Linked DNA regions of Homo sapiens: all the other regions are linked to region 3. The links are contacts of gene promoters, found by promoter capture Hi-C in human tissues and cell types (Jung and others, 2019). All regions are on one chromosome and are shown on one strand. The core of a region is centred on a gene start or on the middle of the fragment in contact, and the rest is flanking DNA. Distances in the headings are between cores, read along the strand shown.

Evidence for each region. Contacts are between HindIII fragments. The study calls those that stand out against the background at their distance.
Region 1: a fragment that was not itself captured here is called in contact with the fragment with the promoter of DLX5 in region 3 in 1 of the 25 tissues and cell types used here (mesendoderm cells).
Region 2: a fragment that was not itself captured here is called in contact with the fragment with the promoter of DLX5 in region 3 in 1 of the 25 tissues and cell types used here (spleen).

The regions. Positions count from the first base shown.
Region 1 is chr7:96,693,987-96,697,543 of GRCh38, forward strand. It overlaps SEM1 (SEM1 26S proteasome subunit), which reads right to left. Exons shown (of 3, transcript NM_006304.2): 2 at 812-905. Among named protein-coding and RNA genes, the nearest start is that of SEM1, 14 kb to the right of the region's middle. The HindIII fragment of the contact is 4,440 bases long and covers 1-3,557 here.
Region 2 is chr7:96,717,771-96,721,735 of GRCh38, forward strand. No RefSeq gene overlaps it. Among named protein-coding and RNA genes, the nearest start is that of SEM1, 9.9 kb to the left of the region's middle. The HindIII fragment of the contact is 5,097 bases long and covers 1-3,939 here.
Region 3 is chr7:97,023,103-97,026,508 of GRCh38, forward strand. DLX5 (distal-less homeobox 5) reads right to left here and starts at 1,729. Exons shown (of 3, transcript NM_005221.6): 1 at 1,167-1,729. The coding sequence starts at 1,521. RefSeq lists enhancers at 1,235-1,951, 2,878-3,393. The HindIII fragment of the contact is 6,057 bases long and covers 274-3,406 here.

The DNA of each region.
Region 1 (3,557 bases), core at 647-3,146, 330 kb before region 3:
ATGTATATGAATATTATTCAGCCATAAAAAGGAATGAAGTACTGATGCATGGTACAACATGAATGAACCTTGAAAACATTATGCTAAGTGAAAAAAGGTACGCACGCAAGGTCACAATATTGTATGATTTCATTTATATGAAGCTTCCAAAACAGGCAAATACTTAGAGATAGAAAGCAGATCAGCAGCGGCCAGGGATTAGGGCAAGAAAGAACGTGGAATGACTGCTTAACAAGTACTGTGTTTCCTTTTGGGATGCTGAAAATACTGGAACTAAATAGAGATGATGGTTGCACAATATTGAGGATGTACTAGAAGCCACTGAACTGTACACTTTCAAATGCTTAATTTTATGTTACATGAATTTTACCTCAATAAATAAATGAAATCAGGTAGATTTATACATGAATATGACACAGTACATTCTCACAACCCCAATCTCCATTCCAGTTTGAGAATCACCAATCTATTAGGTCCCAGCACTCTATGATTCTAATTTCTGCTGAGTTATTTGATATTGGTAGAAAATTAACATTGACAGAATTAAATTCCTAAGGATAAGAAATAGCAAATATGCTTCTATTTTACTACCTTTGTAAAAAGACCAGAAAGAATAAAAGTTGTATGCAATTACACAAAGTGTTCATGTTTAGAATCACAGGAGATGAAGACAATATGTCTTACTTTACACAGTTCAAAAACCTATTTCAAAGATTAAGTAGCTTTTAAGAGGTTAATCATCTATGTAAATTACATATTCCATGCTTATAATTAATACTGAACTACAATAAAAATCTGGCTTAAAACTTACCGTAACTGATTAGAGAAGTCATCCTCTACATTGTCATCATCCCAATTATCCTCCCAGACATGTGCATCTTCATCTTCATCTAAGCCAGCCCAGTCTAAAAATAGAAACAGATGCTGTCTAAATATTTCTCATACATTATTTCCACAATTACAAAAACTTTGAAAAGCTTGCTACTGAACACTCACAATTCAAAAACAGCTAAAACCATATCTATGAAAAATGGTATCTTCCTTAAATCTGAGCTTATGCTGTCTAGTTCTCTCAATTCTTGAGTTTGCAGATAACCTAAAACAGAAGTTAATACAAAAAATTCTACTTGCCAAGAAACTTACAATTTCAGGAGGATATTTACTTTACTGATTTTTCTTTGAACTCATTTTTAGAAGGTCGACTTCACAATCTTTCAAAACACAACACCAACAACCCTAAAGCAAGTTGAATGGCAGGAAGATACCAGTGTGAAATTCAAAACTGCAAAACGTAAGGATAACTTATATACAAATATTTAAAAGTAGACCAAACTGTAAGCCACCACTAGTATCTGCCTAATACAACTGATACAAAATTTATATTTTTAAAGGAAGAATAAACATAAATATGCATAAAGAAGAATATTGTAGTTTTTAGTTTTCTAGATTTTCTTCCTCCCTTTGGTAGTGGTAGAGGGGAGGTTTAGATTGAGATTTCAGCTTTTGTTTAGAATGGTGAGAAAGTACGTACGTATTACCACTATTCTCTAACCTCAAATCTCAAGCTTTAAATATGCTATGTGGGTTGAGCCTGGAAATAGAAATTATCTATTTGATAGTTATTTTAAGGAGTCTTTATAAAGATGTCTAATGGAGTTTTATGTTACAAAAAAATAATTTAAATAAAGACTAGATACTATGTTCTTGAGTAAAGGGGGTGACATAACTCAAAATCACAACAGAACTGTTTCAAGGTTCTAAGACAACAAGCAGATTCTACTCAGCTTGAACCACTTCCAAATAACCAGCTTCCTAAACTGTTAAGTAGGTCGCTTCCATCTGCATTGGTCCCTAAAAAGGAAATAATCATGTGTCAAAAGATTCAAGCCAGAAATATAAAATAATATTTTACACTTTTCTGCTAACCTTGTAAGTCTTTGAAAAATACTGTAGAGCCTTATCTTTTAAAGCAACTATCTTTTAAGAAACAAAATTTTTCATCTAATTATGATTTGATTCAAAATGTTATTTCAATAGTTATTAAGTGATGTCTTCAAGTTGACTTTACTTCTTTTAACTTAGAGAGGGGAAAAATATTTAAGAATGGTACAATTTTTTTAGTTTATAAAGTTAAACTCTGATGATCATTTACAACAAAGATAAAGCATCTCTCCCTCGTCTAATAACCATCTCACCCTATTTTAATGGCTGGGAAAGGAAAGGAAAAAGTAGAGATAAAGTCCCAGGAAAAAGGAACTGGCTCATGAAGAGGGGGAAAAAGAATACTGTGAGCAACATTTTAGGTAGAACATATAAAAAAGATTCATAACAATACCTCTATAGTTCTTTCGTATTACTATACAGTACTTCATAGTTATGACACTACTGAGTAAACAAAGACGAAAGAGCTGGCCAAATTCTTCGTTAATTATCTGATAAATCTAGATAAACTTTGTAGCCTTAATACCATTATCTTAAGCAGTAAGAAGCACTAATGTCTACGTAATAGCATACCACCCTTCCAATTATCATAGATGAGGAATCTGAGAAATAACCTTTCTATTACAACTTATTAAGCAGTTAAAATTAATATGAGCACTGTTAAGAAAAATAGTGCTAACACTGACAAACCAGAATCTATTTTGGATGGATATTTTAAACAGTGTATTAACCTGGATTATGTACTTAACTATATTACATAAAAAGCTTATGTGATAGGGTATAATGCCCCAAAATAGTATGTCCAACACTTACAAATTCTCTATACTATACATACATGTTACAATATATGTAAGTTACAATACATACAAACTCTACTCAATGTATAACATGAAAAAGCTGTAACTATTGTAATCTCTGGGTTTAGCTGACATCTTCTTGGATCTCTGAATTGTGTTTTAATTTTCAACTCTAACACTACACTGACAACCAAGCAATTTTAATCACTCAGTTTTAAAGGGTTAACTCCAGAAATAGTTTTGAAAAGGACAAAATATAACCAAACAATGATACCCATGATATCTGATATACCTCATGTCTAATGCCATCCTTCAATATGTAGATGGCCTTATAAAGCATACACTTTACCTTAAACACTAAATGCATTGCCAGAATTGTGATTAATCATGTAAATAACCACAGCTGTATTTGCTTCAATGTGTATGCCTCCAGATGTGTACTGGTTTAAAAAAAAAAAAAAACCCTACATTTTAAAAAGTCAGAATTGGAAATAACCAGTAACAGATGCCTAATACATAAGTTTCTAGCAATTCTTATTTTAGACGTTGTCCCAAATTGGGCTTTCTTCACTTTGGCTAGTTGAGAATTACATCTGTGACTAGCTTTAAATTTAAAAAATCTGAGCTATCCAAGATCTAAGACATACTTCACCTAAGTATCACCTTGACATTTAAGTACAAAAAGAATCTTCTTTCAACTTAGAAAATTCTTTTAATACTTACTTTCCCCTACTCTGCAACATACATTTCCAAATTTCTGAAAGGCATGAAATATAGCATTTTTGAGAAAAGTAAAAAGGAAATCCCACTCATACTAAA
Region 2 (3,965 bases), core at 141-2,640, 310 kb before region 3:
TACAATCCCAAATAGACGGAGCTTTTTTGGCTCTTTTGTCATAACAAAATGCCTGGACAAATGAAAATATGAAAAATTATCATTGTAAGCTCCCTGAAATATTTAGATCTCATTGTAGAACAATTACTAATGAATAAAGATACAGTTATTGAAAATGTAAATGCTAATAATGAGAAGTACTTAATCTACCACAACATAAGAGCCCAGCCCAAAAAGACCCTATTTTGGACCAAACTACCTGTTCAAAAATCGGTATTTGCATGCCCAAGACTTGTTTGAAAAGGCGATTATGGTCTCACAGGTAAATCATAAGAATTTTTAAAATTTTGTAAATGCTGTATTTATATGACAGACAGGAACCACTCTGAAGGAATCATTATGGTTTGGGAAATGATATGCAATTTCAAAATCATCTAAATCATTTCAATTGCCTGTATTTACATTTATATAATGGGTATTTATAATGGTGATTATTTTAGAACTTACCTTGTTTTCCAGGATCTCACATTGGTTTCTATGGGAACGAGAATGGCTCTGAAGAGGAGCATTTTAAGAACTCTTTTCACATTCAGTGACTGCTAACTGAACTGTAAATTCTGTTTGTCTGTTAACGGTTTTTAACATTTAGATTTTAACACAGAAATAGAAGTTGGGCATTCTAGCCTCATAAATCATTTTAAATAATAAAAACTATTTTTATGAAACATCTGGCACATTTGAAACATTTGAAAAACAAAATAACTAGCTTTAGGAGCTAATAATCTGTTCACTTTATTAAATTCATTAATGATTAATCCACATTGGCCATGTGCTTGCTCTTAGAAAATTGTGTAAAGAAGAACTTCATCAGAAATATATTGTTTTAATACACTTTCTCTGCTATTTATACATATGTGTGTGTGTGTATATATATATATATGTTTTCTTAGTTGTATAAAATCCCTTAAAGTAGTATAAAATGTTCTGCATTTAAAGTTTCTTCTCTGCTAATACCTCACTCATCCTGTGCTATTATTTGCCCTGGTATCATGTTGTACCTTGACCATGAGTTGGTACTTTATCCATGTTCTTATACCAGTTGGAACTTATTTTTACTATTTTTTGAAACAAGCTCATAAGTCTTTGAATTTCAATTTTTCTTTTTCTTGGAAGAAATTTTTAGATCATAAAAAGCCCAATGTGTAACTTATGGATTACGTTTGTTCAGTTTAAAACTGTATTTAATATTTCCTCACATTTCATGTTTTCCAATTAATTTTATTTTTTTTTAATTCCCTGGAAAAATGAAATTTCAATATATCATTATTTAATTCCTTCTCAACATAATTAAAACCCACTAAAAATAAGAGAAGCCTATTCCAGAAAAGAGTGCTAAAACTCAAAATTTTTCTTGTACCCAAACTATAAAAGATGCTAGCTGAAAGCATATGCATCCCATAACCAACTTATGTAATAGCTACTCCAGTTATTTCTGATATACGATCTATGTCTTAAATCCGAAGAGTAAAGGTTGGTGGCAGACTGCCAGGTGGGGTAGAATTAGCACTGGGTGATTTTGCCTTCCTTTTGATTGGAATGTGTTTGCTTGCTGTCAGCCTATCCCTGACGGTAGGCTGCCAGAGACTAGTGTCAGTTTGAGAAGTGGAGCTGCTAGCATCGCTGTGACTAAGGGATCATTCTGTAACTCAGGGGTCTGGTGTAAGCTCCATGGAATTAATTTTTTCTTCTTTCTTAAAAGTATTTTTCATTCAGATTTGATTTTATGATATGAATTAAGGATTGCCACACTTTGAAAAAAGGTGACGATAAATAAATGAGAAATATGTAATCAAATGTTTTGAGAGGAATGATTAATTGATTTGCTATTCTATTTTTTTAAAGTTGATTTTGAATTGAAGTACAAAAATTGAAAAGTAAAATCAAGTCTAATGTTAATCATTAGAAGAGAAAGAGTTATCTTGAAAAGTATCTGTCAGGCCTCTGAGCCTATATCTGAATCTGAAGGTGAGGCATATAATTGTCTAGCACAGAGCTACTCAAAGTGGGGTCCCTGGACCAGCGCCTATAAAAGACAACTATAGAAAGTGAGCATAAACATGTAGAAACTCTTAGAGCAGTTTGACACTGCCACTTCATCCAACCCTGTGATTTCGTATTTTATAAAAATCAGCCCATGGCATTTTTGAATTTTAAAAATTTGCCCTTTACTACAAATGGAGATGGATTGATTTAGCATAAATTACTGTAAGCAGAAAAGAGTGTCATTTGAACTTCATATATTGAGAATAATTTATCCTGTGTGATTCTGTCTGAAAGCTGGGAAGTGAGGTGTTTTTCTCTCTGAAAAATCTCTTTCTAGCCCTAGAATAGCATATTTATATTCATAAGATTACAGCAAAGGAGGCTGAAGCTGATGTTGTGCTCTCCTTTTGCAGATATAAAAACAAAAGTACAAAGGGCTTAAGTGAGATGTCTGATATTACACAATTAACATCAGAATTTAAAATCAAGTTAAGTAAACAGCATTGCACAGAACTTATTTAATATTCTGATGAGTAAAATGAAAACACCCTAGGTTGATTATGGCATCAAATTGGATATATTTGTAATTATATATGGCAGATGTCAGTGCTTTGTCTTAAGGTTTCTGATGGAAAAGCATTGTGATAGTCGTTCAATGGGTGAACAGTGAAACTATACATACTGCAAACCAAGGTGATGAGTTGGAAGGAATTCAATAACCAAAACCAAAATTAAACAAAGAGAATGAAGAAAGATTAAGGTAGGAACACATAGTTTGGTTAAAGAACTAATAGAGCAGAAATGTAAGTCCACAACTCTCTGAAAGGTATAAAATTCCAAAAGAAAAAGGGTTCACCTTGGACTGTAAATAGGAGAAATAAAATGAAAATAAGAAAGGGAAAGTTTAGACAAAACATTGGGGATTCTTGTTAATTTTCAGGAGTATTAGGTTAGTTGAGTGGGTGCCCAAAAGAATCTCTAAGGACATTTAAAACTTCATTGAACAAAGCCATGGACAGTGTATTGTGGTGAGCAAGAAGACTTAATGGCAGGGGGATGGTCTGGATCAACCATGAGGTGTTTTTCAGCTCTAATTTCTAGTATACCATAGCTCTGTGAAGAATAGTTGCTAAATTGCTTGATCAACCCAGACAAATAAAACTCAAAACAGGAATAAATTCCCAGACAAAACAATAAAGTCAGCCAAAATTGAAACACACCCCTCAGAATAACAAAGAACCCTAAATCTTGCATCATACCCCAAAGACGACAAATTCAGTTTCTGGCAGCCTGCCCAGAAGAATAAATTCCAGAGACTAGATCCTTCACTGAGTAAGCCCAACCAACAGGTTGGGAGAGTTCAACTTCTCAGACACGCAAAACCTCCCAGCAGATATTAATATTAGAGCAGACTAAAACTGAAAGGGAAAAGTGATATATTAAACAGCTTGATCTATGAGTGAACTAATTCCTGTATTCATTCTTCAAGGAGTTATTATGGAGTACCTACTATCTGCCAGCTACTATTCTGGGGTAGGGTACCTCAGTGAACCAAACACTGAAGAGATCTACCCTTGTGGAGTTTACGTTCTAGTGTGAGGAACAGTAAAGAACACGGTATGCCATATCTTCAGTAGGTGGGAAGTGCTAAGGGGAGTAGATAGCAGGCTAAGGAATATGGCGGGCAGGGTTGGGGGTGTGACAGAATGGGGGCAGATGGCTGCGTTTAATAATGCAATCAGGGTAGAACTCCTGAAGAAGGAGAGACATTTGAGCAAGACAAAGGCAGTGAGAGTAGTTAGCCAAGTGGGTACTGGGGAAAGAATATCCCAGGCAGTGAGAACTTACAGAGCACAGCAGGAATGGTGGAGCAAACCTGGTGTGTTTGAGGAATATGAAGGAATATTCTTCCCCACACTCACTCCCCTCCAGTGGAATGAAGT
Region 3 (3,406 bases), core at 479-2,978:
CCGGGGCTCTCTTTTAAAGTTCAGCAAGAGTCACACACTGAGAAGGAACCGGTGGTGGGGTGTTTTCGTAGGAAAGGGGCGGCAGGTCAGGATGAGATTCTCACTGTCATGAGTATGGGTTTGGGCGGGAGGGGGAGGGATTGCCAAACGCGTGTTGTACAAACCTGCCCTGGGGCTACAACTCCCCTTCCTCAAAACTACCACCCCTCTGGAACTGACGGAGAACCTCTCCAGGGTGTGTGTGTGTGTGTGTGTGTGTGTGTGTGTGTGTGTCAAGTTCCAGGGAGAAGTGTGGAGGATGAGGGCTGTGGTCTCAATTCTGCCAGAGTAGGGGATGCTAATATTAGCAGGATTATTAATGTGCTGGTGGGAAGAGATCAAACCTTACCAATAAAACCTCTCCGCCGAGCCTCATGCCTTTCTCTTACCGCCCAAGCTCACTAACCCTCTTAAACTCTCTAAGTAAGTTTCAAAGCGGACGAAAAAGGAGGACGGAAAGACAAATTGTGGGCGCCTATGGAGACAGAAAAAAAAATCTATCCTACAACGTGACCCCTCAGCAACCCTCCTCCACCTTTAAATGGCTTTTTGTTTTTGGAAATGCCTGGATAAACCGCAAAACTCTCGGCGCGCTCTTCTCTGGCTGGCTACAACTCCTTAACCCCCCCACCCCCACCCAGCGTGCTCAGGGCACCCGCACCGTGCTAGCTTGTGGCGGCTCTCAAACTAATCCTGACTGAGTTTTTGAGGCAGCCTTCTATTCCCACTCGCACCAACCCAGCACGCTTACCAAAATTCCCAAGTAACCTTCTCTTTGTTACGCAAACGCCAGGAGCTGCTTGATTCTTTCTTCTCTCCACCCCTATCCCCTTTCCAGCCTAGCCGGCTTCCTGGCCGGGCAAGCTGGGAATTCAGCGACTGAAGGGCCTTGGAAGGTGCCGGAGGGGAGAGACGCTAGTTCGAACCTCCACAGGGCTCTCCTACTAAAAATCCCTAAAATGCTGGCCCGAGAAACTCTCTTTGTTGGAGGGTCTGAGTCCTACTCCCTTCTGCCGCGTGCGCCCCCACTGCCGTGAACCGCTGTGACCCCCAATCTACCACCCCATCTCGCGCCCCCAGCGTCCTAGTCGCCCTGTATCTGCCCAGCCTTCCCCCTGTCCATGTACCTGGCTGGTTGGTGGCGCTTGGGACGCGGTTGTAGGCGCCGCCGTACTGGTGGTAGGAGCTAGCGTAGCTATAGTCGGCATAAGCTTTGGCTGGGTAGCTCCCGGCGGAGCCGTTCACGCCGTGATACTGATACTGGTAGGGGTTGAGAGCTTTGCCATAGGAAGCCGAGGTAGGAGAGCAGTAGCCGTGCGGGGCTCCCCCCGTAGGGCTGTAGTAGTCAGAATCGGTAGCTGAAGACTCGGGCAAAGTTGGCGATTCCTGAGACGGATGGTGCATAGCTGCGGACGTCTGGAACGGAGCTTGGAAGTCGCCGGATCGGATGCTGGGGACCCTTCTGTCAAACACTCCTGTCATCGCTCACGGGCGGCGGCAGCGGCTGTCCTTGCTGTTGTGGCGGCGGCAGCTGCCCTAGTTGGCTGTGGGGCTGCTCTGGTCTAAGCAGACATGGCTGTGGGAGCGAGGGAGGAGGAGGAAGAGGAGGAGGAGAGAAGGAGGAGGCGGCGGCCGCGGCGAGGAGGAGACTGGGAGTCGTGAAGTCTCTGTCTCCGGCCGGCTGACTGCTGGCTGAGGCGCAGCACAGCCTTGGTTAAATCCTTAATTGCGCGCTTACGCACAGCGGGGTGGATCTGGTTCTATTGGCCAGGGCCTCGGGAGCAACAGTAACACCCTAACTCGTCCAACTAGTTTTAGCACAACAAAGCATTGCTTAAAAAGGGGGTGGGGGGTACTGAGGGGGTGTGTGTGTTTGTGTGTGTGCGCGCCCGCGCGCTTGTGTGTGTTTTTGCTTGTTGTGGAGTGGGGAGGGGTCTTAGTCTATCTGTTTTTAGTAAATTCCAAAGACATCGCAGAAGCCACAGCACAAGGCTCTGTGATGTCTGGGGACAATGTGTTCCAATCAGAAGCCTCAAAAGTGCACATGTTTTGGGAATGAGGTGGGCGACCATCTTTCCTTGCTTCCCACTACCCCGCCCCCGTGGGCTGCACCAAAGGCGAGTGTAGAATTAAACACTGATACTGAAATAGGGAGTCAAGGTGCAGGGAGTGGGGAGCGGGGGGATGTAGGATGGAGGCAAGAAGGAAGGGAAACAGCATTTTTTTTTTTTTTAGTGGAGTGTTGGGAAGCAAGTTGTAACTTACATGTTTTGAAAATTTGCTCTTTGGGGAAAGAGGCAACTTCCTTTGCAGGAGATGAGTATCTCCCGGACGCGGGCTGGACAGGAATGCCCAAGAAGGCACAATGTCCATTAAGCCGGTGAATGGCAGGGAGAGTTCCTGCAGCCCAAAGTCCTTATAATGACTTTTAAAAATTACTGTCTTAAACACATATAACTTAAGGAAGCCCAAATCCTCGTTGCTGGCTTGCAAAAAGAGCCAAACAGCTCCACTTCTGTTTAATATTTTCATCTATTTTCAAGACATTGGAATAAAGGCTCTTTAACTATGTTCAGTGGCCAAAGACTCCCGCAAAGGTGAATGGATCCATGTATAACCTGCCATACCTCCAGGAAAGAATGGGAAAGTCTCGGAAGTGGGGAAGGAGACAAGGATCAAAGCCTTTGCAAAGTCAGATGATGCTCATTGATTTCCCCCTCCTGGCTCCATGAATGTGGCCCAGTCTCTCCATTTCCCAGACCCGGGTTTCTGTACCCTCTCCCCTTTATTTCCTGCTGCAAAGACATCCTACTTAGCTCGTATGCAAGGGAAGAAAGGATTCAAGAATCATTCAGTTGATACACGAGATCTAAACTTTGCTCTTCAGGAGGTGCTATCCTTGTTCTAGTCGTGATTCAGCTGGGAGTTTAGAAATTCAGCATAAAAGTCTCTCCCAATCCCCATTGTTACTCCCCTCAAATAGGCAACTCCGCGGACTAGATCCTGATTTGGGGCCTTCCTACATCTTCCTTTACGGGGTCCAAGACCGGCAATCTGGGAGTTCCACAGGCTATCTAGGGTTATCTGGCCTCCCCTCCGTTTTCCCTCCTACCGAAGAAGAAAGCGTCTGTGTTAGTTGTGTCTAGTATTAGTTTAGCCTTACTTGGAGTGTGGAGCCACTCGGCCTAAAACAGGCCGACGGGTAGAGGTAGGGTGTCTGGAACTCAGAGCAAGATACAGCCCCGCTCAGGAACTCCAAAGCAGAGCTGCCGTGCGTGCACCAACTCCCTGCCTTTGCGGTCTGGACTGCACCAGAAAAACACAGCTATTGTCGCACTTCCTTTCGGGGGAAACTTCAGCACCGGGA